Linked DNA regions of Homo sapiens: regions 1, 2, 4, 5, 6 and 7 are each linked to region 3. The links are contacts of gene promoters, found by promoter capture Hi-C in blood cells and fetal thymus (Javierre and others, 2016). All regions are on one chromosome and are shown on one strand. Each heading gives the region's core, a stretch centred on a gene start or on the middle of the fragment in contact. The rest is flanking DNA. Distances are from core to core; before and after follow the strand shown. Region 1 overlaps MMS22L (MMS22 like, DNA repair protein). Region 2 overlaps MMS22L (MMS22 like, DNA repair protein). Region 3 holds the start of POU3F2 (POU class 3 homeobox 2). Region 4 holds the start of NDUFAF4 (NADH:ubiquinone oxidoreductase complex assembly factor 4). Region 5 holds the start of KLHL32 (kelch like family member 32). Region 6 overlaps KLHL32 (kelch like family member 32). Region 7 overlaps KLHL32 (kelch like family member 32).

Region 1 (3,800 bases), core at 542-3,041, 1.7 Mb before region 3:
AGTATTTAATACTTAAACCAATACTCTGAGAGAAAATAATGTTTTCTGCTAGTATTAGTAAATATTAAATGCTACTAAATATAGATAATCACCAACACAGCAATACATTATATTATAAAAGTTAACTCTTAATTTGGTACTTGGTGACTCACAACGTATTTTCCAAGAGAAATAATTTAAAATGTTTGAAGTCTCCATTTTAGTTGTAAACGGGTACTTACCCAATAAGAAATTCTGAAAGTTTATTTGTAATGAAAAATAGCATACAGCTGTTAAAACTGTACCAAATAAACAACTGAAAAAAATCAAACAATGAACCCCTCCCCCAACCCACCCGCCACCACCAACTCTGTTTCTTGAGTAGTTTAAGGAAAAGCACATTAAATCAGAAGAAGATGAAGTAATAAATGAATATTTTCTGAAAATTCCGAAGAGGAGAGCTGGGTACCATGAAGAAATTAAAGACATAGCTCCAGTTCTACCAAACAGATAATACACCAAACTTTTAAATTTACCACTTACGAAGCTTAAGAGAATTCTTATTAAATGGACTGTTTGGGTTTAAGAGGACCACATGGAAGAAATATTCCAGACTCTCCTGCTGCTCACCACTCCCCTCTATTCATCTCTCCCTCTGTGGGATTGGCGGTTCAGGCTGTGGTGTGGCTGCCTCCCCTTTTTGTCATTCTGCTAGATTAACACACTAAACTTCATTTTAAATGCTATTATGAATAAAAATTAGAGGGAAAATTTAAAACTTCTCAGGAATCTTAAAACTCTGTTAAGAAATACATCTTTGAAAAAAGATTGTTACATAATCAAAATCCATTTTCCCTTTCCTCCTCAGCTTCCCTTGTTGGACCTCAAATTAAGAAGCACTTATCTTTAACATCAGACACTAATGAATAATAAAGTACACCTCCAGTCTCATCCTTTCCTGAATGGCAGATCAATATTTCCAACTGCCTACCTCAAACTAAAGCTGCTCAGAAACCAATCCTTACCTTCATCCCGACATCTCCAGGATTTCCCACGTTAGTAAGTAGAACTACTATCTACGCAGATAGCCACTCTGGAATCTAGGAAGCATTTCACTTCTTTGAGTTCCTCCACAACACTCAATTAGCAAGTACTCTTAATCACAGCTCCCAAATGTTTTTGAAATCTGCTGTTATGGGTTTTATTCCCACTGCCTTAGGTCAAAACCTTCTGACAATATGTGGATTATTACAAGGAACTAGTTACCACTGCTTTCCAAAACCTCCACACCAATTATCTTACATATGACCACCAGAATCATCTTTCTAAAATGTAAATATCATTATGTCACTTCTACTTCTCTGCTCCAAATTCATCAGGTCCCCATGTAAAAGATTAAGTCCAAACTTCTTAGGATGGAATATAAAGCCCTCCATTACATGGCTCCTCCCATATGACTCTCCAGCCACAACAGAACCATTCTATATTTTCTTAAAGCTCATGCCCTTGTACATGTTGCTCCCTCTGAAATGAAAAGCCCTCCAACTCCTACCCATTTTGCTCTTTTACCTCTGATGTCCTCTACAGTGTATTCTCTTATATCTCCTCACCCATAGTCTAATAGATGAGGTCTGAAAAAAAAAATACTGAGCACACTACCATAAGTGTCTGTGCTCATCTACCTCCTCTCTCAACTTTAAGCTCCTCTGCTTTTTCATTTTTGTTTCCAAAGCCAAACATAAAAGCAATTTAAAATATGTTCAATAAATGTGCCACACAAGCATTTGAGATTATAATGTACAGTTTTTAAATCTGCATTTAGTAAACTATGTTTTTAAGGCAAAGTTTCAATATTTTTTTTTTAAACTTTTAAGCAACCACAGATACTATACCTGGAGATACAAAGGAAGACTTTTCTGAATTGCTGACAACATAGGTGCAGGCAGTTCCTTCTCTTGCTGTAATACTGCATGTGGCAGCAGTAAACAATCTATGATCCGGAATAGTAATTTTTGGGCTTTAGAAGTGGCAAAGATTTGTGCCCATGATTTCACAAGAATTCCTAACAAAGAAGAGAAGTAACAGCATGTTGTTGTTATCCTCTGACCAGAACATTTTGTCACTTAATTTAAAAATTTGTATTGAAAGCACATGGGACCAAATTAAAGTAGGGAATAGGAAGAGACATATAGTAGAAGTAACAAATATTTATGTCAATTCATATATTTCACTAAAGAGACAAATTTTTCATAGAGTTTTGGGCCAAGGAAAACATACATTTTCCGAGCAACTGGCATTTAATATATACACTGGTTAAGTATCCCTAATCTGAAAATATAAAATCTGAAACGCTCCAAAATCCAAAAGTTTGTGAGTGCCAACATGATGATCAAAAGAAATGCTCATTAGACCATTTCAAATTTCACACTGTTGGATTAGGGGTGCTCAACTGGTTAAGTATACTACAAGTATTCCAAAATCCAAAAAAATCTGAACTCCAAAATACTTCTAGTCCCAAGAATTTTAGACAAGGGCTAGTCAACCTGTTTACACTCACACATACAGTGGAATATATTTATACATTATGTGACTACATTGGCTGAATGTTGAAATTATTCAGGATTTCCCTTTCTGCTTTCCCTCTGAGTTGCTAGGATGCCCAAATGCAAATTAACAATCCACCTTTTAAAGAATACTGTAGGATTATACATTATGGTTTTATATGCATACTAATTTTCCCTGGGCCTCACCATGAAACTCTATATTTATTTGTTGGTACCCCTATTTCTTCATATTTTAATCTTACATGTAAGTGGCCTCAATCCAGTTTGCAACAGAAGTATAATTAAATTTAATTGTTAATACATGGAAAGCAGGATTAGCTATAAGCTAATCACTTAACCTCCACCAACTTCAGTTAACCTCCATGAACTTCAGTTTTTACACCTTTCCATTATTTAATATAAACAAACAAAATTTTAATTCTGAATGAAGAGAAACAGATTTCTTTGCTACTTGAAATATATTATGGCTTCCTTGGTGCTAGAAGTCTGTTAATTGCCACATCTGATGATAATAAAGCTTAACAAATGAGCACCCTTTGTTTAATAAAGTAATTAAGAGCAGATATATAATTCCCATTAGGATATATTATTACTATTGAGGTCTCCTTACTGAAAAATGAATTTAAAAACAGATTAAATGCTTATCCAAAAAGCACAGTGGTACATCTACTGCATAAACTTTTATATTTTATTCCATCCTAGAAAGCAAAAACGATAAAATTCAAAGTCATTTCCATCAAATAAAGAGTTTAAAATTTAAGCTCTGAAGGAAAACCAAAATATGCTTATGGAAAAGTATACTGATGTTAAAGAAAAAAACTCAACAAATTATCACTTTTAAGAACAAACAGCAACATTCATCTTTTGTTGTAAAAGGAAGTACAATAATCAATCATAAAGAAACAATGTTCACTTAGCAAAGTTTTAAATAATGCTGGCTTGCTCCTCATTTCTTCAGTTGGTGGAGAATTTCAGTATGACAGCAATATTAGAAGAACTTATATTCTAAAAACATTAATATACCTGTAAGGGGAACTGCTATCATCACTGGCATATGAAATGATTCTTATTACTCTCAGGTGCAATACAGGTATGTTTCACTTTCTACAGTTTTAGTTACCCGTGCTATAGGGTACCACATGGTATAGTTTAGTTACCGGTGATATAGGGTACCACGTGGTATAGTTTAGTTGCCCGTGGTATAGGATACCAATAAGATATTTTGACGAGGGGGTGGGGAAGGCAGTCAGAGAGAGA
Region 2 (3,480 bases), core at 242-2,741, 1.7 Mb before region 3:
AAAAAAACCCACACACACACACACACACACACACACACACACACACACACAAAAACACATATACACATAAATAACCTCTTTAAAGGCATCACCTTAAATAGATAAAACTCCTTAGTGACTGCTGGAACTTTCCAAGCCATACATTATTTGTTTAGTAAGTCACTATCATGATGAAAAGAAATTCAGTGTTATGAAGTCTATTAAACAGCCTTAAGCTTTCATTTATTCCCTTTGATGAAGCTGATTTGAGAGAAGGACCATTTATATGTTATGAAAATAACAGACACTCCTTTGGATTTCACAGATTATAATTAAGAGAACGCTATTAACTACAGAATACTGATTGCAAAGTATTTCATTTTTAAAGATACTCCTTGAGCCAGAGAAGGGTTGAAATGTTTTCTTGAAGGAAGAGTAGAACCATGATAAAGACTATAATCCCAAGAAGGAAACAAAGTACTTCAAAGTTAGAAAACATGATGTAAGAAAACATTGGAAAGTGGGATCATTCATCTGGGACATATCATTAGAGAAAGATAAAATTGAGAGGTGTTCTTTGCCTTAATTGTGCACGAGTAATAAACTAATCGTGTCTGTACATTTCCCAACAGAATTTGGGCCACCAAATATTTTCACGTACATTATCCCATTGATTCTCACAACAACACTGTCAAATAGTAAAGGGATTCTTCTTTTCTTCTCCATGAAGAAACTAGACTGAGAAAGGTTACGTAACTAGCTCAAGATCATAAAGCAAAGCTGAGTTTGAGACCCAGGTGGGTTCCCAAAACTAGGACTGGAGCTCTTTCAACCAAATAATGCTCAATAGGAAAAGGAGTCAAGGACAAGCTCCAACTGGTAAAACAATCTGGATGAGTTAAGAGTTCAAAAGTTGAGAAACAATGTTGTTAAAGGAAACTAAACAGGTTTCTTGGATAAAATGCTAAGTTATAAGAAGCTCTGGCTAAAGAGCAAGAAGATGGATCAGCTGACTTCTCAGACCACTACTATTGTTACTTTTCTAGAATATTTTTATTTACTCTCCTCTTAAAGTCTCCTTTATTTCCTCCTCCTGATATGATTTTTTTTTTAATGACAACTCCAAAAGAAAGGATGAATAAAAAAAAAATTTGGCAACTCTTGGAACCTAAATATAAACCCTGTTGGCATGTTTACACTTCTTTTTGGATATCAGCTGTATAATCCTTTAGCCAGATTCAGTCTCATTCCTAACACAGTTAAGTGTGCTTTGTAAGGGTTTTCTTTGTTAACTTGCCTCACACATATAAAAAAGAAAAACAAATACACAGTCACATTTCCCAACACCTTTCCCCCACCAAAAACACAGTATAGGGTAGCCAGGTACTTTGAAAAAGTATCATTTTAAAACATAACTATTATTGTAAAAATAAAAAATAAACATGACAAATCAGTCACAAGGCAGGGAGGCAGGAAGTCATACTACAACAAAAAGTCTATGGATGAAGTATCTGCTTAATACTCACACACAGAAAACACTCTCAGAAAATGTTTCTTTAATTTAGTTTAACTAAAATTTCATCAAGGTAGAATGCAGTTTTGTAAAAAGTTCCAAGGATCCTATTACACAGTTGCTAATTAACCTTCAGTTCCTTATTTATACATTTTTTACTTACAGATATAAAAGGAAAAAAAATCCTAGAAATTATTTTAAACAGAACATTATACAATTAATTAAAAGTAGGAATTAGAGTGGAACAATGTGGCTTTAGATACTGATAATTAATAGACAGGATGAATCACAAAATATATTAAGTATTATCATTTTCCAGTCTCTGCATCTCATCTTGTCCCATCTGTCCAAGGTGAGACAAAAGTTTGCTATAGGCTTCCCTGTTTAAGAAAAAAGAAAAGAAAGCAAATATATTAACATTTTCATTATTTTTCATTTCAGTATTTACAAATTAAGTCTGCCCATCATCCATCCATCCATCTATTCAGCCATCCATCCAGCAGGCTTAGCACAACACTTCTTAAAAAGTAATGCTTTATATCTATTGTGAGTAAACCTAGATGTTAAGATGTATTAAAGTATGATTTTTATATATAAAATGTGTGCTAAAAATGACATGTAAAAGTTCATTAACCTTCCGAAATATTATAATGCTCACGGGTAATAAAATGCATTCATGGAATATTATTTAAGGACAATGATGGTATGATTACAATGGGAAGACTTGTATCACAAGCGTAAGTATTAAAACAAAAATTCTGTAACCATAAAATAGACCTGTGTAGCAATTTCAGTATATATCCCATTTTCTTCTTTTAACTTCTTATAAGTAACAAAGTTTGAAAATAAAATATTGTTTCTCCTCCTACATTCTCTAGTACTTCCCTGTATTTGGAAGGTGTTTTAGATGATTTATTGTGCCTAGTAGTTATCTCACTAGTCTAAATACCTGTTCTGTTCAGAATCTTTAGAACCAAACTTCTTATGGGCCTGCATAACCACACAAGGTAGTAGGCCAGAATATTTGTTTTAACAACATACTGCATTAGGGTGGTTCACACACAGCCTCTCTAGTTTTTTCACTCAAATTTGAAGACTGCTCAGAGAAGCCAGATGTGAGACATGTCTGTGCATGAGCTTGTTTTGTGACATGACAATAAACACCATTTCTTCAAGCTACAATTTGAAGTGATTCAATCTTCTCTCCTTAGAAAACCACAGGAGGCTAGCCAAGTCACCATGCAGAAGAAAGGAGATGTTCCATTCTGGCATACAAAAGCTTTACAAGGATGATCTCTCCAGTCCGCACCCCCTGCCTTTTATATGAAATGGCATTGAAAAAATGGATTCCATTAGTTAGCTAAAGCTATAATCAACATAGTCATGTCTTCAAGAAAGATCTCATATATTGTTTAATAAAAAATTTTTGTCTAAAAATTGGAATATGCATATTCATTAGAGTGTGTATTTGTACAGATAAACAGACACACATGCATATGATTATAGTCATGCACTACATTAAAAACATTTTGGTCAATGATGGGCTGCATTTTGGTCAATGATGGATCCCATTAAGATTATAATGGTACTGAAAAATTCCTAATGCCTGGTGATGTTGTAGCCATTGTAATGTCTTAGTGTAATGCCTTACTCGTGTTGTTTGTGGTGATGCAGGTATAAACAAACCTATTGTACTGTCAGTCATATAAAAGTCTAGCACACACAACTATACATAGTATATAATACTTGATAATAAGAAAGAATGTTACTGGTTTATGTATTTACTATACTTTACTTTTTATTGTTATTTTAGAGTGTACTCCTCTTTATACTTATAAAAATAAAAGTTAACTGTAAAACAGACTCAGGCAGGTCCTTCAGGAGGTATTCCAGAAGAAGGCTTCCTTATTGCAGGAGACGACAGCTCCATGTGCGTTACTGACCCTGAAGACCTTCCAGTGAAGTAAGATGTAGAGGTGGAAGACAGT
Region 3 (3,719 bases), core at 606-3,105:
GCGCGCGTGGTGGGGGTGCAGGTCCGTCCTGCTGGCGGCCTGTGGGCTCGCCCCTCCCCTATCCATTTCTCTCCCCCACACACGCTCATAAACACAGGACACGTGGAAATTCTCAGCCAAAGCGTCTTGCCCGGGCGGGTGCTCAACGTGGTGATTTATAAACAGCTCAGCCACTCTCCAAAGAGCATGACTCCTTGTTAGTCATGATGAATTTTCTGGCCCGCTCCAGTCTGCTGTCTGGATTCAGATGCTCAGAGGCCCCAAAATGCTCCCTCTGAGCGTTGATTTGGCTGCCCTCTCAAGCCTACGACCGCCGGCAAAACCAGCGATAGAGCGAGGGGTGAGAGGTGGGGACGCGATCCAGGTTCCCTGGGGTCTGTCATTCCCTTCCCGGCAGTAACTGTTGATTCGCTTTACAGCGCCCATGTACACACCCGGCCCTGCGTGGCGGTCACGCCGCTCCAGCCTGGGTCCGCGCCCAAGTTCTAGCTACCGGGCTTGCAGGCTCGGAAACTCGCAGGCGGCACCTGCTCTGGGCGGCTAAAGAACTGATGGCGCGACGCGCCCGCGCTCCGTAGAGCGGCGCTGCGGGTGCATGGTCCCATAGTCTTGCTCTGGAGTTCACTGCTGAAAGCTGAGCTGGGAGCTTGGCCAGGGAGCGCCAAAGACATAGACTAACCCCACCCGCTAGCGCCCACCGAAGTTACTGATTAGGAAGGTTCCCCTGGCATCAGCCCATTTGCTTCACACACTCTTCCTCCTTCCCAAGGGGCTAACGGAAAAGTTGCACCTACCAGCGGTAGGAGCACGGGGAATCGCGCACGCAGGCCCTCCGCGCGGCTTCCCGGAGCGGCCTTTGGCGACTGCGCCGCCCCTACAAGGCCGCACACCCCTCGCCAGCACTCCGGCAGCCTCGCACAAGACGGAGCCCACGCAGGCTTCTAGTTTTCTAAACCAAAAACTGCACGCGCCGGCGTGTGAATCTGACGGAGAGACTTTTAGAGTTTTGTTTGGTTTTCAGTTCAGACCGCTACGCTGTCAGAGCAAGCAACTCCGAGCCTTGATGGGAATGACTTACAAGCCGCGGTGCGGGCTGAGCCTGCCTCTCTCGGGGTTCTTTCCCCAAGGGAGTGGGAGACAATTGGGCCTGGAACCTAAAAGGAAGAGAGCCTGTGCTAGCCGCGGGGTAGAGGGGAAGGAGAAGAGCTTTGGGCCGAAGTGTCCGCACACCCTGGAGCAAGAGACACTTGTGCACTGAAATTCTAACCGTGGGATGCAAGGAGAGTTGAACAGGGGAACAGGTCTGGCTCTTGGCTCTAGGTTTAAGAGATACACACTGTGTGTGTGTCCCTAGGTGAATAAAAATCCGACTCCCGCTGGCTCGGTGCGACCCAGCTTTTCCCTTACCCCCTCCGTTTCCCCATCTTAAAGCCCTATTGGGAAACGAAAGTGGACACCACTGCCTCCCGCCCCCCACCCCAATCCAAGTCTTCCAAGTGTCTGTGGCCGATAAGAGCACCGGGACCGCCCCCCTGCCGGTCTTCTCTGCCTGGGAGACAGATGGGGGGCGGGGCCCATCCGAGAGAGGGCGGAGGAGGCCCCGGGTGAGGAAGAAGCGGGGGGGTGAGAACTGAGAGAATCTGAATCGGGAGGCGAAGGGGACGGGGAGGAGGGCTAGGAGGACTCCGAGCCCGGGGGAGGGGGAGGGAGTAGCTCTGCGCCAATCAGTGGCGCCGGCCTGGGAGGTTGCTAGCGGTATCCACGTAAATCAAAGGGCGCGGAGCCAATGGGAGGGGGCGGAGGGGGCGGGGCCCAGGCGCGTGCCGCTGCGAGCCGGCGCTGCCAAGAGAGCGGGAGAGAGCTGGAGAGAGCAGGGAGAGGGGGGAGCGCCGAGCTAGTCAGAGAGTGAGCGAGAGCGAGAAGGAGGGAGAGGAGGAGAAAGAGAGCGAGGGCGGGCGGGAGGCGGCGGCGGCGGCAGCAGCAGCAGTAATAGCAGGAGCAGCAACAGAAGGCGTCGGAGCGGGCGTCGGAGCTGCCCGCTGTGGGAGAGAGAGGAGACAGAAAGAGCGAGCGAGGAGAGGGAGCCCGAGGCGAAAAAGTAACTGTCAAATGCGCGGCTCCTTTAACCGGAGCGCTCAGTCCGGCTCCGAGAGTCATGGCGACCGCAGCGTCTAACCACTACAGCCTGCTCACCTCCAGCGCCTCCATCGTGCACGCCGAGCCGCCCGGCGGCATGCAGCAGGGCGCGGGGGGCTACCGCGAAGCGCAGAGCCTGGTGCAGGGCGACTACGGCGCTCTGCAGAGCAACGGACACCCGCTCAGCCACGCTCACCAGTGGATCACCGCGCTGTCCCACGGCGGCGGCGGCGGGGGCGGTGGCGGCGGCGGGGGGGGCGGGGGCGGCGGCGGGGGCGGCGGCGACGGCTCCCCGTGGTCCACCAGCCCCCTGGGCCAGCCGGACATCAAGCCCTCGGTGGTGGTGCAGCAGGGCGGCCGCGGAGACGAGCTGCACGGGCCAGGCGCCCTGCAGCAGCAGCATCAGCAGCAGCAACAGCAACAGCAGCAGCAACAGCAGCAACAGCAGCAGCAGCAGCAGCAACAGCGGCCGCCGCATCTGGTGCACCACGCCGCTAACCACCACCCGGGACCCGGGGCATGGCGGAGCGCGGCGGCTGCAGCGCACCTCCCACCCTCCATGGGAGCGTCCAACGGCGGCTTGCTCTACTCGCAGCCCAGCTTCACGGTGAACGGCATGCTGGGCGCCGGCGGGCAGCCGGCCGGTCTGCACCACCACGGCCTGCGGGACGCGCACGACGAGCCACACCATGCCGACCACCACCCGCACCCGCACTCGCACCCACACCAGCAGCCGCCGCCCCCGCCGCCCCCGCAGGGTCCGCCTGGCCACCCAGGCGCGCACCACGACCCGCACTCGGACGAGGACACGCCGACCTCGGACGACCTGGAGCAGTTCGCCAAGCAGTTCAAGCAGCGGCGGATCAAACTGGGATTTACCCAAGCGGACGTGGGGCTGGCTCTGGGCACCCTGTATGGCAACGTGTTCTCGCAGACCACCATCTGCAGGTTTGAGGCCCTGCAGCTGAGCTTCAAGAACATGTGCAAGCTGAAGCCTTTGTTGAACAAGTGGTTGGAGGAGGCGGACTCGTCCTCGGGCAGCCCCACGAGCATAGACAAGATCGCAGCGCAAGGGCGCAAGCGGAAAAAGCGGACCTCCATCGAGGTGAGCGTCAAGGGGGCTCTGGAGAGCCATTTCCTCAAATGCCCCAAGCCCTCGGCCCAGGAGATCACCTCCCTCGCGGACAGCTTACAGCTGGAGAAGGAGGTGGTGAGAGTTTGGTTTTGTAACAGGAGACAGAAAGAGAAAAGGATGACCCCTCCCGGAGGGACTCTGCCGGGCGCCGAGGATGTGTACGGGGGGAGTAGGGACACTCCACCACACCACGGGGTGCAGACGCCCGTCCAGTGAACTCGAGCTGGGGGAGGGGCAGAGCGCGGGGCTCCCCCTCCCCTTCGGTCCTTGGCCCTTTCCCGGCCCTCTTGTTCCCTCTCTAACTTCTGATTGTTCTTTTATTTTTAATTATTATTTCCCCGTCCCTTAAAAAGACAAAAAAAATAAGGCAAAAGGAAAGCAACTAAGACACTGGACTATCCTTTAAAGGTAGCAGGTGTAATGATGTGTTTTGACCTTTGCAGGCGAG
Region 4 (3,727 bases), core at 507-3,006, 1.9 Mb before region 3:
CTTCACAACATCATAGGCCCTGTGAAAATAAGGACTAGTTTTGTTCATCACTATATACAAAGCACTTGTGCCCAGGACTTACATAATACAGAATATGGATTTACACATAGGTTCCCATTCCTAATGTATTCTTTGATCCTTCTAATTTTAAATATCCTATCTGAATACATCCTTAAAAAAACAAACAGGAACACCCCACAAAATCCAACAACACCACTTACTAAAGGAGTCTCTGAGATTAGAACATACCTCAATCCACAGAAGAATGAGAAAATAATATTAAAGCTCTGCTTTTGTCACTCAAATGACAACCACTGGAAGTAATGCCTTACCAAATCCTACAAATTCTGAAATACTATGAAATAATTCACACAGTTGCTTGTATCAATACTTCCACAAGTTATTTTAGAATTCTGGTAAATATCCAGTGAACCAAGGCATAAGTGTCTTGCTGTCTTACACCAGTGTGCTTAAACTTTGCCAAGGCGTGTAGATTGATCACAACACACACTTGCAGAGCACTCTTTTTACTACTTGCCACACTTAATCATTTTCCTGAAGCCCCAAAATAAGTAAATTGTGTATTCACTTAATTAAACACACATTTACCTGCAAGGAAGACACAGGATCTTTGGAATCAACATACACATCTTTTAGAAACGACAGCAGCTTTTCATCTTTACGAGCAATCTCTCCTTTAACTTCTGGATAGACTAAGGAAAGGAAAAAAGTCACAATATTAAAATCAAGGAAAATTTCCTGTAATATCCTAAACGCTTAACACAAACGCTTTCTTTTATTTTCTTTTTTGAGTCGGAGTCTCGCTCTGTTGCCCAGACTGGAGTGCAGTCGCGCGATCTCGGCTCCCTGCAACCTCCGCCTCCCGGGTTCGAGAGATTCTCCCACCTCAGCCTCCCGACAAGCTGAGGCTACAGGCGCGCCACCACGCCCGGCTAATTTTTGCATTGTTTGTAGAGACGGGGTTTAGCCATGTTGGCCAGGCTGGTCTCGAACTCCTGACCTCAGGTGATCTGCCCGCCTCGGCCTCCCAAAGTGCTGAGATTACAGGCTTGAGCTACCGCGCCCGGCCTAACCACTTTAATTTTTTTAAAAAATAAACATAATCATTTGGACTGTTAGGAAAATACTTTAGATGGAAATCAAAATTCCAGGTCAGGCTCTGCGTCCATCGTCCAGTGAAGACCCCTAGAGAAAGCTCTGTGACCCTCTCGGATTTTGATTCCCTGTATCAAGTCCGTGACAGCAGCCGGCGAGGGCCTGGTTAGCGGGAGCACTGGCTGCTGCCTCTGGGTCTCGGAAGTAGGCGGGGCCGCCGACCTCACCGCGGGCGCGGAGGACAGTCTCAATGTCACCGGCCTGGCGGCTCCCCCTTCCAACGCTCCGCCAACCCGAGCGGCTGCGGCCGAGCAGGCTGACGCCGATCCCTCGGCCTCCGGACCCACGCTAGGGACAGCCGGGCAGCACAGGGACTCCGCGCCCCCGGGCCCCGAAACGCCCTCGCACCACTCACGACTAATCTGCTCTCGCAGGAGGCTGTTGGTAGAGGGGTGTCTGGGAGCGACAGAGGGCTTCATCTTGCTGATTTCCCGTTCCGCTCGGTTCTCTAGGTTGAAATTCCTGATACCGCGAATCACTAGTGCTCCCATCTCCTCATAACATTATGCGCTCAGGTTCAGGCCGCACGTGGGAACACCGGCGCAGGACAACTCCGGGACACCCGGAGCATGCGCACAAGTGAGGGGAAGCCCCGCCGCGGGCGCTTAAATGCGTGCCCGTCGCCCCCTAGCGCTCGGGAGGCCACACACCGCTTCTCTGCCCAGGGCATTTAAAAGGGAGCCCCTCCCTTCGGGGCGAGTGACGGCTCCCACGAGGGCCGCTTCCGGCGGGAGGTGGCGGGGCTTAAGTCCCCAGACCCACGGTTGCTTTTAACGCTGGAACTCCGAGGGAGTCACCCGGGAAGCTCTGTAAAGTTCTGTGCCGGGCCCTACCCCAGACTTTCTGATTTAATTCTTGTGGAGTGAGGCCCAGCATTGGATAAGACTCCACGTGATTCCAAAGTTTCAGTGAAGAGCTGAAAATCAAAGTCGTAAGGAAGTTGACCTTGAAGTTGTTTCACAGGGCAATGCCACCAAAGAGTTAGCCGATAAAAATGGAACTTACTGAACCAGGGTCAAACTGGGCTCTCAAGTTGCCCTTTCCTGCTTTTGTGAAAGGAAAATAATGAAAGGATGTTCCCTTTCGATGAGTATTTGTTCTCAGCCGCTCTCATTTAAATGCCTCTTATTTTCCTGTCCCCCCGCCTGATGCATTTTCAAGCCACTGTATTCTTTTTCCATTATTTTTTACATCCCGTTCTCATTTGACCTAATGGTATCGATTTTAGTTATACTTTCCCTTATCTTATTTTTGCTACTAATTTACTTCTCCATGCTACTAAATGCTGAGTCATTCCCTCTCCTATTTCTCTTCTCTCTTGCCTTCTTCATTCTTTTTAAGCCTCTGTGTAATTTAATGAAAGGAACAGACAATAAGACGTCAGAAAAAAAAAACAAACAAACAAAAAAACGAGTGTTACATTCACCTTCTCCGTCTCTCTCCATTTCCTGAATGGGTTACTGTAGTGCTGCTTTTATTTAAGACCCTTTAGAAATATTGTTATTAATCTAAAATAAAACCCACCAGGAAGGAAGCAGTAGGAAGGAAGTTACAGTATTTCTCTTACTGTGGCTGCAAAATCTATTTTTAGTGTTCTGATCTCTGCTTAGCAAAATGAAGTAGAGTGGATGTTTTTAACCAGCTTAAAGTAAGAAAATATTGATGTAAAGATAATCGAATAGAATAATAATAATAAAACAAGAATCAAAGAACCAAAATGAAGAAAGGGAAAGTTTTTTAAAAAGAAAACTAATGTAATCATTAAGTATAATGCTTAATCAGAGCAAAAGCACTGCAAGGAAGACGGCTTCAGCCACTCTAATTTAAATGCCCTTTATTTAATTATACTGAACATTTTTACAGGGATTGGTATTTGGAATTTATAGAAGCTGAAATCAGTGATCTCAGATAGCATTAACTGGGAAGTTATCCTGAAGGTGGCAGGCTGCTCCAAGATTTCTATCTTTGATACTTTTAAGCATGCTTGTGATTCAGGGCTTTTTAGGCACGGTATTTCTATTTCTATGGGTGCTAAGAAATTTTAATCTGCCTCATTATGTCTATGTGCTTTAATCATGGTAGCAATTCGACTCACTGCCTGTTAAAATATTTTAAAAGTGAAAATCTCATTTTCATAGAAATTCCACCGAACTTCGGGCAGTATGAAAAAGTAATGTTAGAAGTGACTGTCAGGACAGTAGGGATTACAATATGAAATAATTATTTGAATTCACACATTCCAATAGAGCTTGGATTCAACATTGAAAGAGCTTCCAGCATGTGTCAGCTGCTTTGCCTGATCCTGGCCCAGTGCTGCTCAGGCCCTCAAATTGCAAAACAGAAGGCAGATGCACTCCATCAGAAACTCACAATTGGCTGTCACCCTTTGGGAATCATGGAAATAAAACCTGAACCATAAATGCATAATTCCAGCTCTTCTTGTCAAAACATATAAATTAACAGGAACTCTGAACTTAAGAACTCCTGTTGGGCTTATGTTAAGGATTGAAGTCAGATCCCCAAGGAAAGTATAACTAGGATGCTGCTTAGA
Region 5 (3,323 bases), core at 60-2,559, 1.9 Mb before region 3:
AGTCAGTTGTTTGTCATTCTTTCCCTTGTCCTATGCTGTGTCCAGGACTGCTAGATAAGTAGGTACCCAGCATCCTAGCGTCCAGATATCAAAACCATGAAAATGAAGCACTACAAGCCAGACAGATAACCTCCAGAGGGAGCAAACGAATAAACCCCCAAATCCTGTGGATCTAGAAGTAGAAAATAATCGCTGAACCACTGATTTGAGACCAATGAGAACATTAAGGACACCTCAAAATAGATCAGGGCACTGTTCCTAGCCCAACTCTGTGGCAGAACATAAACCTGCAAGAAATAGGATTAACATACTATCTTTGCAGTAAGTTAAATCCTGAACTTCTACAAAATACAGTTTACTCCAATTTAGTTACACTCTTCCTGCTTCTGGTGTCTTACCTCCACGTTGGACTAAGGTTTTCAATTCGGTGGTGGAATACTTACCTATTAAAATTACCCACTTTGCTTTAGTGTGAGTTTCTCAGCATGTTTTACACAGGAGTGACCTGAATGACTCGGAAGTGGCACTTGAGTGTGCCAGGCCCTGGAATTTAATGGTATGGTTCTGTGGTTGTTGTCTGTTTGCGGTTTTATTGCTGAATTAGTAGTAACCACAGTAATCACACCCTTTCTCATTTCTCAGGCTTGGGGATTTCGTCCACCTCTGGCGGGTTGGTTCCCCTGACGTTTCTTAAAGTTACTGTGAATTTGTTCTGGTCAGTACCATAGAGTGTATTATCCTAAGGAGGGCCACTGTAGGGCCGCTAGGACTAGAGGCAACTTGAACTTCACAAGTTAGCAGAGCAAGGACTCCCTGGAACACCGAGTTAGGGCCACGGGGTCTGTTTGCTCAGATTGCCCGCCAGCCCTGGGAAAGGAGTCTGGGGGCGAGCAGGCTGGGTTCCCGGGTCTCAGTCGCCGCAGTGGTGGCTACAGACTGCGCATGTGACCCAGGGGCCGGCGACGCAGGTGCCGGAGAGCGAGGAGGAGGGCGGCGTGGAGGAGGGTACTTCCGGGACCGGCGGGCGCGCGCTGGCAGCTCGCCGACGGCGGGGGCGGGGGCGGGGGGCGGCAGGGGAGCGAGCGCGCTGGCGGCGGGCGGTGGCGTTGCGCGCGGGGTGGCGAAAGGATGTGCGCGGGATCGCGGGGGAGGGGGAGGGAGCGCGCGGGCTAGCTGGAGGCGGGAGGGGGCGGAGCCCTGTGGCGTCTGAACCCGCCCCGGGGGTGCCAAGGTGCGTCTCCAGTCTGACGCGACCGCCTGGGGCGGAGTCAGCGGGACGTGCCACCTGCAGTGCTGGCTAGGGCTTTTTATTTACTAGGGAGCAGTTTCCCCGCGCGACAGTTCGGGAGCGCGCAGGCAGTCGCGCGCACACACGCACGCAGGCACACACACACACACACACACACACACACACACACTTTCGCACACACAAACACGCTAGGACGCTCGTCTTCGCTACTGCATCCCCGAACCAGCAGAGCGAAGCTACTGCGGGTTCTGTTAACCTCAGCATCGTGGGGCGAAGCAGAGCCATTGTGCATCAAGGAGAGGCCGGTGCCTGCGCTGCCGTCTCTGGCACCTAACCCAGCAGACCGCTCACCCCATCGGGTAAGCCAGTCTCTCTCCTTGTAACCTGTTCTGCAGACCTGAGGAAGAGGGTGGGAGGCTGCTGGTGCGCCAAGTGGGGGCAGACCCGGAGTTGACATTTCAGGGGCTTGCAGCCCATGCAGCCTCTGCCCGTGTCGTCTAACGGGAGCAGCCACTACTCAGGTTACTTATGCTGCCAGCCCTGGAGTCGCTCCCCCTTTCTTCCCTCCCCCTGAGCCCAATATGTACTGTGCTCCTTGGTTGCCAAGGAGACTTGCTTAAACATCAGCCGTGGGACATCTATTGAAAGAACTGGTTTCTTAAATGATGCCGTTATTTATTTTGATATTTAAAATAAAATATACACTGAGGACCTTTCGTAATTTGGCATTTGTTAATCTGTATTCAGGTGGCGGTTTCATTCAACTTCAAGAAAAGCCGTAATTGCACTATATGGTATGCTTTAAAAAGGATTCGTCAGATGAATTTTTCAACGGATTGTGTCTTGAATCATAATTTACTCCCATTTTGGTGATCTTATAAAGAAAGATGACTGCAGTTTAGATCCCTTCTTCCCCTCTATTTCCAGTTTTATTTTGCAGTTCACTTAGTCGTGATTATTTTAAATTAAAAGCAGATGATTTAATTGTGTTTCCCCACACAAGAATGAGCTTCTATTGTAAATTGACCAGAACAGGAATACGTTTGTGAATTCGTAACGTAAGAAGGTAGCATTCATGACATACATCTTTGCTAGCATTTTTATATCCCCTGCATCAGTATTGAAGCGCAGTTTTTTGCACCTCTGCTCATTTCTGAGAAGATTCTGTTTTTTAAAAAATCTCTTATTGATTATTTTTAGATCTATCTCTATACACAGATAGAGATAGATATAAAATGTGTGCCATGGCTTACTAGAGCTTATATGAAAGTGCAGTGGTTTTTGCTTTTTGTTTTTTTTCTGATGGGACTGGGTCCTCTACTGGAACACTGATAGGCCAATGGAACAGGTCAGCCTAATACCTGGGCTGTCAGTTTTGTTTTATTTTGAGGTCTCGGGTGTCTATTGGGTGAACTTGTAACACAGTACTTGAAGGCATCAGCAATCCAGTAATTACACTTTGCACGAATTTCATGCCTCCATCACAAACAAATGGCCCAGTAAAGATCCACTGGCATTCAAGAATTAATTTTGTTTTCCTTGGATATTTGTTCATCTTTTCTACTTCTTGTTAAATGACCCAAGGAAATAAGTCAAATTCTTCTAATTTAGATTTTAAACTCTGTCATAGAGAGTGTAATAAATAATGTGAGGAGCAAGTAAGCCAAATAATGACAGAGGTAGATAGAGGGGATTTATGCAATTCACAGAGCTTTGGGAGATGAATGATGACAAACATTTTACATTACAGTGTAGAAAGCACTTTTCATATACTTCTTTTTTAATCCTCACAACAACCCTTTGAGGCCAATAAATTACCTTCCATTTAAAGCTGAGGAACCCAAGACTCAAACCTTGCTGAAGGTCACAGCTAGTGAATGGGGAAGCCCTTTCTGGATCCAGTCTCCTTGCCTTTAAAAAAAAGTTGTGTGTGCGTTTCAGATGTGTGCAGGGATCTGACAAGTGAGATAAAGGAGTGGAGCAGGCCTAGACAAGACACGTGGGAGAGAGGGTAGGGAGTGGAGTGTGAACTGTGGCCTCTGGAACTTGCAAACCACTGTAAAGGAGGCAGCTC
Region 6 (3,556 bases), core at 1,040-3,539, 1.8 Mb before region 3:
CTATTCTCTCTTGGCCTTTGTAACACTGCTCACTGTGGGCTTTTATTCTGTGCCACCACCAGCCTTCCCGTCACTCCTTTCCAGGTGGCTTTGCTTGCTCCTCCCCACTCTGTAGGCTTCAAATCCTTCCTGCTTCAGAACCCTCCTGTTTAATCCAACTAGCTTCCTTGGTGATGTCATCCAGACCCAAGTTATTTGGTATTGACAAATAACTTGCTATTATCTTATGCTATTGACTCCCAGCCCCTACCTATACTCTAGACCAAGGATCAGCAAACTTTTTTTGTGAGGAGCCAAAAATAATTCAGTAAATAATTCAGGCCATATAAAGTTTCTGTCACAGCTGGGTGCAGTGGGTCACGACCATAGTCTCAGCACTTTGGGAGGCCAAAGCAGAAAGATCGTTTGAGCCCCGGAGCTCGACACCAGGCTGGGCAACATAGCAAGACCCTGTCTCTATTTTAAAAAGTAAATAAAGTTTATTTCGCAACTACTCAACTTAGCTGTTGTAGCATGAAAACTGCCAGAGACAAATATGTAAATGAATAAGCATAGCTATGTTATAATAAAACTCTATTTATACTTAAATTTGAATTTCATATAATTTTCATGTATCACAACATATTATTCATCTTTTGGGTTTGGGGGACTGTTTTAAAAAGTTAAAACTATTTTTAGAAATTAATACCCCAAAAATTAAACAGGCGTAAATCTAACAAAATATGTACAAAAAATGCAGTTTTCCTATGTGAGTATCTTTTTTTTTTTTTTTTTTTTTTTTTTTTTGAGACGGAGTTTCGCTCTGTCGCCCAGGCTGGAGTGCAGTGGCGCGATCTCGACTCACTGCAAGCTCCGCCTCCCGGGTTCACGCCATTCTCCTGCCTCAGCCTCCTGTGTAGCTGGGACTACAGGCACGCGCCACCATGCCCGGCTAATTTTTGTATTTTTAGTAGAGACGGGGTTTCACTGTGTTAGCCAGGATGGTCTCGATCTCCTGACCTCGTGATCCGCCCGTCTCGGCCTCCCAAAGTGCTGGGATTACAGGCGTGAGCCACCGCGCCCGGCCGAGTATCTTTTTATATGCTTATTTGCCACCTGTCTTCTTTGGTGAGGTATCCGCTCAGATCTTTTACACCCCCCTCCCGCCCCCATTTCAAAAAATCAGATGGTTCATTTTTTTCATTGTTGAGTGTTAAGATCTTGTTTTTTGATATTTTGGATAACATTCCTTTAGCAGATGTATCTGTTGCAAATATTTTCTCTTAGCCTATGGCTTGTCTTCTCAATTTCCTAATAGTGTATTTTGTGGAGCAGAAGTTTTTAATTTTAAAAAAGTCCAAGTTGTCAATTATGTCTTTCATGGACCATGTTTTTGGTGCTGTATCTAAAGAGTCATTGTCATACCCAAAGTTATCTAGATCTTCTCCTATGTTACCTTGTAAGAGTTTTCTAGTTTTGCATTTTACATCTACATCTGTAATCCGTTTTGAGTTTATTTTTGTGAAGGATTTGAGAGCTGTGTCCAGGTTCAATTTTTGTATGTGAGTGTCCAATTAATCTAGCCCCATTCTTGAAAAGACTATCTTTTATCCATTATTATTATATTATCTATAATATTATCTATGCTCTTTCATTGACCATATTTATGTGAGTCTGTTTCTGAGCTCTCTGTTCTGTTCCATTGATCTGTTTCTCTCTTCTTTTGCCAATGTCACACTGTCTTGATAACTGTAGTTTTTTTTAGTCTTGAAGCGGGTATTGTCAGTCCTCCAACTTTGTTCTCCTTCAACATCGTGTTGGCTATTTTGGGTCTTTTGCTTCTTCATATAAGCTTTAGAATCTGTTTGTTAATACACAAAAAATAACTGTGGGATTTTGAATAAGATTACATTGAATCTATAAATTGAGTTGGGAAGAACTGACATCTTGACAATATGGAGTCCTTTTTATCCACAGACATGGGCCATCTTTCCATTTATTTAGTTTTTCTTTGATTTCTCTCATCAGAGTTTTGTAGTTTTCCTCATATATATATGTGCTAAGTCCCATGGCTAATGCCCTGATTGCCTACCAATATTCATTTCCTCTTTTTTCTTTATATAGAACTCTAATTTGATTTGGGACTATGGTGCATCTAGCCATAAAAATTTAATTTCCCAGGCTCTTTTACAGCTATGTGTAGCCACCCAGCCAATGAGATGTAAATGGAAGTCTCTGTAACAGTGTTTGTAAGAAATCTATTGTTTTTCTGATAAACAATGCCAGACTCAGCTGGCAAATGTTTTTTGTTCTTTGACCTCTCCTTTCTTTCTGCTTTGAATGTAGACATAATGCCTGGTGGTATGGCAGCCAATTTGAGACCATGAAACCACAGCCTGAGATTTGCCAAGCAGGAAAATACAAGGAGGCTGGTTGCCACTCTAAGTGGCCTAATCCAAATGTTATTGGAAAAGTAACCCTTATATTTGTTTAAGCTGCTTTGTTACATATAGACACACACAATTGTAATGATACACAAGCATTCTTTTGGTCCTTAAAACAGTTTTTGAGGTAGACATCATTATTTTCACTGTACAAATAAGAACACTGAGGCACCTGGAGTTGAGCTGTTCTCCCAAGTTGATTCTGTCAGCAAGTGTAGGAGCCAGGATTTGAAAGCAGACAGCGTGACCTAGAACACATGGGCTTATTAGTTCACCAGATGTCTGTGGAGACCCAGGATGAGGTAGGGGTGGGGAGAGATCTTGCCAAGCTTTGTATAAGGAGTGGATTTAGAGTTGGATCTTGAAATGAGTAGGATTTTGACATATGGAAATTAAAGGAATGAGGAGGACATTGAAGATGGAGAACAAGGTATTGCCTGAGTGTGGAGACTAGTAGATTACTGGCTTTAGCAAAGGGACCAGAAGGTCATAAAACTGGAGAAAAGTTTTTAACAGCAGGTTGGGGCTACATGGTGAGGTTTTCCAAATACAAGCCTCAAAAGTTTGAATTCTCTGATTCATAGAGAACTACTGAATTCTAGCCAGTATTGCTCAGATGGAGCACTTCAACAGGCATATTTATGAACATTTCCCAATATGATCACAACATTTAGAAACTGGAATTCATGTGTTTTATTATCCTTACCTGAACTATGTTTTTCTTTCTTAAAAATAAACTTCAGATGTCAGATATAGATGTGCAGTGCATGAGTCAATTTAGAAAATTCTTTTCCTTTAAATGGCTGCCACCTTGTGGATAAAAAGTCCTTAGTGCAGTGGTTTTGAAACTAAAACTAGATTGGTAGAAATTTCTCATAGCTAGATAGATCTTGTGTTTCATGTTCCATCTGTGAGAATTCTGTCATAAATAACTTTATGCAAAACATTTTATGTGTGTTGAATATATGATCATTTAACAGCTATTTATGCTGTTGTATCCAGTTCATTTGATGATTATAAATTCAAGATTCTGATAATTTGCCATTCTGTAATACTATACAGGAAAAAAAAAATACCAAAGAAACAAACTATAAAGAAGGGAGGAAATGTAATCATTTATTCTCATAAATGGT
Region 7 (3,684 bases), core at 1,014-3,513, 1.7 Mb before region 3:
TTTCAGTAGGGCCCTGTTAAATATCTTCTGTTAGATTTTGCATATATTTTCAGACTGATGAGCCAGGGTCTTACCATAGGAGCTGGGGAGTGCAAGAAATGGGGAGATGTTGGTCAAAGGGCACAAAACTTTCAGTTAGAAAATAAACAAGTTCTAGGGATCTAATATAGAGCATGGGTTCCAGGGATATGTTAATTAATTTGATTGTGGTAATCATTTCCCAGTGTATATGCTTATCAAATCATCATATTGTACACCTTGAATCTAAACAATCCTTATCTGTCAATAAAATATTTTTAAATAAATAAGCCAAAACATGGCAATTCTTCATAAAAAAAACTTAGAACAACACATAGAAGTAATTCTGTATCATTCTCATGATCAGATCTGTTTTCATTTCCATAGGAAGTGCTGAGTAAGCTCTGTTTTCTTTTCAGGAACATGCATTTCCTGCCTCTTCTGCCTTTAGGTTCTCTTTCACCAGAGTAAGAGGGAGATTACTGTTTTCCATGGAAGTACAATTTGTAGAAAAAGCCTATATAGAAAAATATAACATCAATTCTTATACACACTAGCATAGGGAGAAAGTATGGCTCTCCACCCATCAGTATGTACTGAGCACCTACTAAATACCCAAAATTATGCTAGAGTGGAAAGAAGGCAGAGGACAGATCTGCCAACTCCATTTCCCTCTTCCAGGCCTCCTCCCAAATGGAGAGAATCCTCCTGATTTTAAACCATAAGTACAGCTCTCTGAATTTTTATTTTATCTCCAAAGTAGCAGAAACAAGAAGGATATTTAAAAATGAAAGAAAACAGCTTGTGGAAATAAAAATGAATATTTCTTGACCACCTGTTACATGCTAGGCATAGTGTTGGGAGCTAGATTCTGGGGTAAAATGCTTTACAAAAATATTCAGTAGTTAGGTTAAGGAAATTTATTTCACCTTTATCTCTGAGTGGGAAGTTTTGTTTTCCTTTAATTATTAATGTATTAACTGTTTCTTACTTTTAGTGAGAACTTATTATTTTGTAAGAACAGTCCTTTTCTGGGTAGGCGCGGTGGCTTACGCCTGTAATCCCAACAGTTTGGGAGGCTGAGGCGGGCAGATCACTTGAGGTCAGGAATTTGAAACCAGCCTGCCCAACATAGTGAAACCCCATCTCCACTAAAAATACAAAAATTAGCCAGGTGTGGTGGCAGGCACCTGTAATCCCAGCTGAGGCCTGGAGGCTGAGATAGGAGAATCAGTTGAAGCGAGAGGCAGAGGTTGCAGCGAGTGGAGATTGCGCCACTACACTCCAGCTGGGATGATAGAATGAAACTCCAGCTAAAAAAAAAAAAAAAAAGAACAGTACTTTTCTTACTTCATTAACCTGGGGGTTGAGGACACTTCCTACTTGTATTCTGAGTCTGACTTTGCCTGGACTTAAGTAGATATTAAGACCAAAAAATTTGCTGGCTATGTGAGTGGCGTCAAACAAGGTAAGACCTCAGCAGGGAGGGTTTCCTTTATTCTATTAGGTTGGTGCAAAAGTAATTGCATAAACCCAAGTTATGTCCTATTTTAGTGTGGCAAAGAGGGACCATGTCACCTGATTTGGGGCTGGGGCAATCCTGTTCATATTTGTCCGTGATTATCCATCCCTAGAGGCAGAGGCTGTGCTGTAGTGTTTGCATTACCTACTGCTTGCACTCTATTAATAATAAATAAAAACAACAATGTAGAGTTTCCATATTAAAATGTATTGAATGGATAATAAGACATCCTACTATTCCTACATTAGGCTGGATTTATTCTAAGAAAATTGATATAGAAAATGAGTTTGGCCTTTTAAAGACTGCATTTTTCCTTATATTTTTGTTGGAAATTTGCTTCCCTAAGTCATACTCTTAATAACACATTCATTTTATATCTTGAGAGACATAAGCCACATATTGTTTAGTCAACAATCTCAAATGCAGTGGTTTTTTTGACACGCTCCTCCTGGGCTTTTATGTATACCACAGAATCAGCCACGTTACAGTTTGAATTAATCATTTTCTTCAAAAGGAGTCCCAGAAGTGAACCCAAACAAAAAGCTACTATCCCTTTACAGTTGGAAAGTAGAAGACACTGGTGATGTACTCAGCTTTCATCTTTTATCCTTCGATGATAAATTGACCCAAATGTACCTCTGGCCAGGAAGAAGCAAGGAATTTAAATAGTACTAGATGTCAAACAATACTATTAAAATACTTCCAATTTGAATATCACATCACAGTTTTGAAAATGCATCTTCATTTATTATTGCTTTGTTCTCCTGTAGTACAAAAGGGAAAACTGAGGTTACATATCTAGGAATCAAACTCATGTCTTCTAATTCTTGAGCTATGTCTACTTTGGTCTATAGCTTCTAAATTTGTAATAGAAGCTCAGAAATACTCAGGCGATGGGCACAGAGGTGCATCCAATTAATCCTATGACTTTAACAGGAATTAAGAAGGGCTTGATTAGCTGGGCACAGTGGCTTACGCCTGTAATCCTAGCACATTGGGAGGTTGAGGCAGGCTGATCGCTTGAGCCCAGAAGTTTGAGACCAGCCTGTGCAACATAGTGAGACCCCTGTCTCTACGAAAATATTAGCTAGGCATTGTGGCATGCACCTGTAGTTCCAGCTACCCAAAGGGCAGGTTCACCTGAGCCCAAGAAGTTGAGGCTGCAGTGTGCCGTGATTGCACCACTGCTCTCCAGCCTGGGCAATAGAGCGAGACCCTGTCTGGAAGAAAAAAAACAAAACAAAACGAAACAGAAAAAAGAGCATGACCATTCTAGTTCCCTTGGGTAGTGCCCATGGATTGAACAAATCATGGCCTCTGTGCCTGCCTCCGTGTCTGTGTCATGTTGCTAATTCTAATTCTGTTAGATGACATATGCCTCATTCATTCTTTCATTCATTCCAAATAGTTATTGAGTGCCTGCTCTACCCAGCCATGTCCTGTGGGGTACTACTATTGCCTGCCATATGATGGGTGCTGGGTAGTCAGTAATGGGAAGCACCAACAGGGTCCTGCTGTCATGGGCCTGACAGTGTCTGATGTGGGGCTTTCCGCTTGCTGCTCTTTCCCACCTGCCCAATGCCTTCCCAGTGGGGACTGACCTGTGCCAAATAGCATAATGATTTCTTTGCCAAGTTGGGGCACGTTGAAATGATATGGGTACAATGGAGATGACATGCTTTTGACTGGATGTTTCAATACCAACCAGTGACCCTTCGCCTTTTGTTCAATGCTTTGCTTATTGTTAACTCTCGATAGTTGTATGCACCCTCTAAACAGCTTCGCAAACCTTTGTCAATCCATGTGATACAGTCCAAGCCTCAAACAAATCAGGCTGTGGGTAAACATTTAATCAAAAAATTCTACAAGCTGTGTTCATGTTTTAATATTTGGACCTTGGTAACTAGAAATAGAATAAAATACTAAGAACTCTTATCCTCAAACAAAATTATAATTTTTCATCATGTTCCTGCCCTTCTTCAATTCTCTTTCTTTCTTTTTTTTTTTTTTTTGTTGTTGTTGAGATGGAGTTTCACTCTTGTTGCTCAGGCTGGAGTGCAATGGCACGATCTCAGCTCACCGCAACCTCCGCCTCCCGAGTTCAAGTGATTCTCCAGCCTCCGCCTCCCAAGTAGCTGGGATTA

Evidence for each region. Contacts are between HindIII fragments. The CHiCAGO score rates a contact against its expected background, and 5 or more counts as called.
Region 1: a contact is called between a fragment that was not itself captured here and the fragment with the promoter of POU3F2 in region 3, in 1 of 17 cell types (naive B cells). The highest score is 5.6, in naive B cells.
Region 2: a contact is called between a fragment that was not itself captured here and the fragment with the promoter of POU3F2 in region 3, in 1 of 17 cell types (total CD4 T cells). The highest score is 5.1, in total CD4 T cells.
Region 4: a contact is called between the fragment with the promoter of NDUFAF4 here and the fragment with the promoter of POU3F2 in region 3, in 2 of 17 cell types (activated CD4 T cells and naive CD8 T cells). The highest score is 7.9, in activated CD4 T cells.
Region 5: a contact is called between the fragment with the promoter of KLHL32 here and the fragment with the promoter of POU3F2 in region 3, in 1 of 17 cell types (total B cells). The highest score is 7.7, in total B cells.
Region 6: a contact is called between a fragment that was not itself captured here and the fragment with the promoter of POU3F2 in region 3, in 1 of 17 cell types (endothelial precursors). The highest score is 5.8, in endothelial precursors.
Region 7: a fragment that was not itself captured here is called in contact with the fragment with the promoter of POU3F2 in region 3 in 1 of 17 cell types (M2 macrophages); the score reaches 5.3 in M2 macrophages.

Annotation. Positions count from the first base shown.
Region 1 is chr6:97,166,200-97,169,999 of GRCh38, forward strand. It overlaps MMS22L (MMS22 like, DNA repair protein), which reads right to left. Exons shown (of 25, transcript NM_001350599.2): 20 at 1,872-2,041. Among named protein-coding and RNA genes, the nearest start is that of MMS22L, 120 kb to the right of the region's middle. The HindIII fragment of the contact is 2,534 bases long and covers 525-3,058 here.
Region 2 is chr6:97,145,016-97,148,495 of GRCh38, forward strand. MMS22L (MMS22 like, DNA repair protein) reads right to left here. Exons shown (of 25, transcript NM_001350599.2): 25 at 1-1,872. The coding sequence ends at 1,791. Among named protein-coding and RNA genes, the nearest start is that of MMS22L, 140 kb to the right of the region's middle. The HindIII fragment of the contact is 2,556 bases long and covers 214-2,769 here.
Region 3 is chr6:98,832,719-98,836,437 of GRCh38, forward strand. It overlaps POU3F2 (POU class 3 homeobox 2), which reads left to right and starts at 1,856. Exons shown (of 1, transcript NM_005604.4): 1 at 1,856-3,719. The coding sequence starts at 2,156. The coding sequence ends at 3,487. RefSeq lists a silencer at 1,797-1,866 and enhancers at 2,505-2,574, 2,573-3,169, 3,170-3,719. The HindIII fragment of the contact is 14,703 bases long and covers 1-3,719 here.
Region 4 is chr6:96,896,135-96,899,861 of GRCh38, forward strand. NDUFAF4 (NADH:ubiquinone oxidoreductase complex assembly factor 4) reads right to left here and starts at 1,757. Exons shown (of 3, transcript NM_014165.4): 1 at 1,532-1,757; 2 at 610-713. The coding sequence starts at 1,667. It also overlaps a transcript of KLHL32 not described here. RefSeq lists an enhancer at 1,580-1,679. The HindIII fragment of the contact is 8,617 bases long and covers 1-3,727 here.
Region 5 is chr6:96,923,419-96,926,741 of GRCh38, forward strand. It overlaps KLHL32 (kelch like family member 32), which reads left to right and starts at 1,310. Exons shown (of 11, transcript NM_052904.4): 1 at 1,310-1,608. RefSeq lists a silencer at 1,037-1,346. The HindIII fragment of the contact is 7,655 bases long and covers 1-3,323 here.
Region 6 is chr6:97,056,416-97,059,971 of GRCh38, forward strand. The region is part of intron 4 of KLHL32 (kelch like family member 32); the gene reads left to right. Among named protein-coding and RNA genes, the nearest start is that of KLHL32, 130 kb to the left of the region's middle. The HindIII fragment of the contact is 921 bases long and covers 1,830-2,750 here.
Region 7 is chr6:97,088,446-97,092,129 of GRCh38, forward strand. The region is part of intron 6 of KLHL32 (kelch like family member 32); the gene reads left to right. Among named protein-coding and RNA genes, the nearest start is that of KLHL32, 170 kb to the left of the region's middle. The HindIII fragment of the contact is 5,387 bases long and covers 1-3,684 here.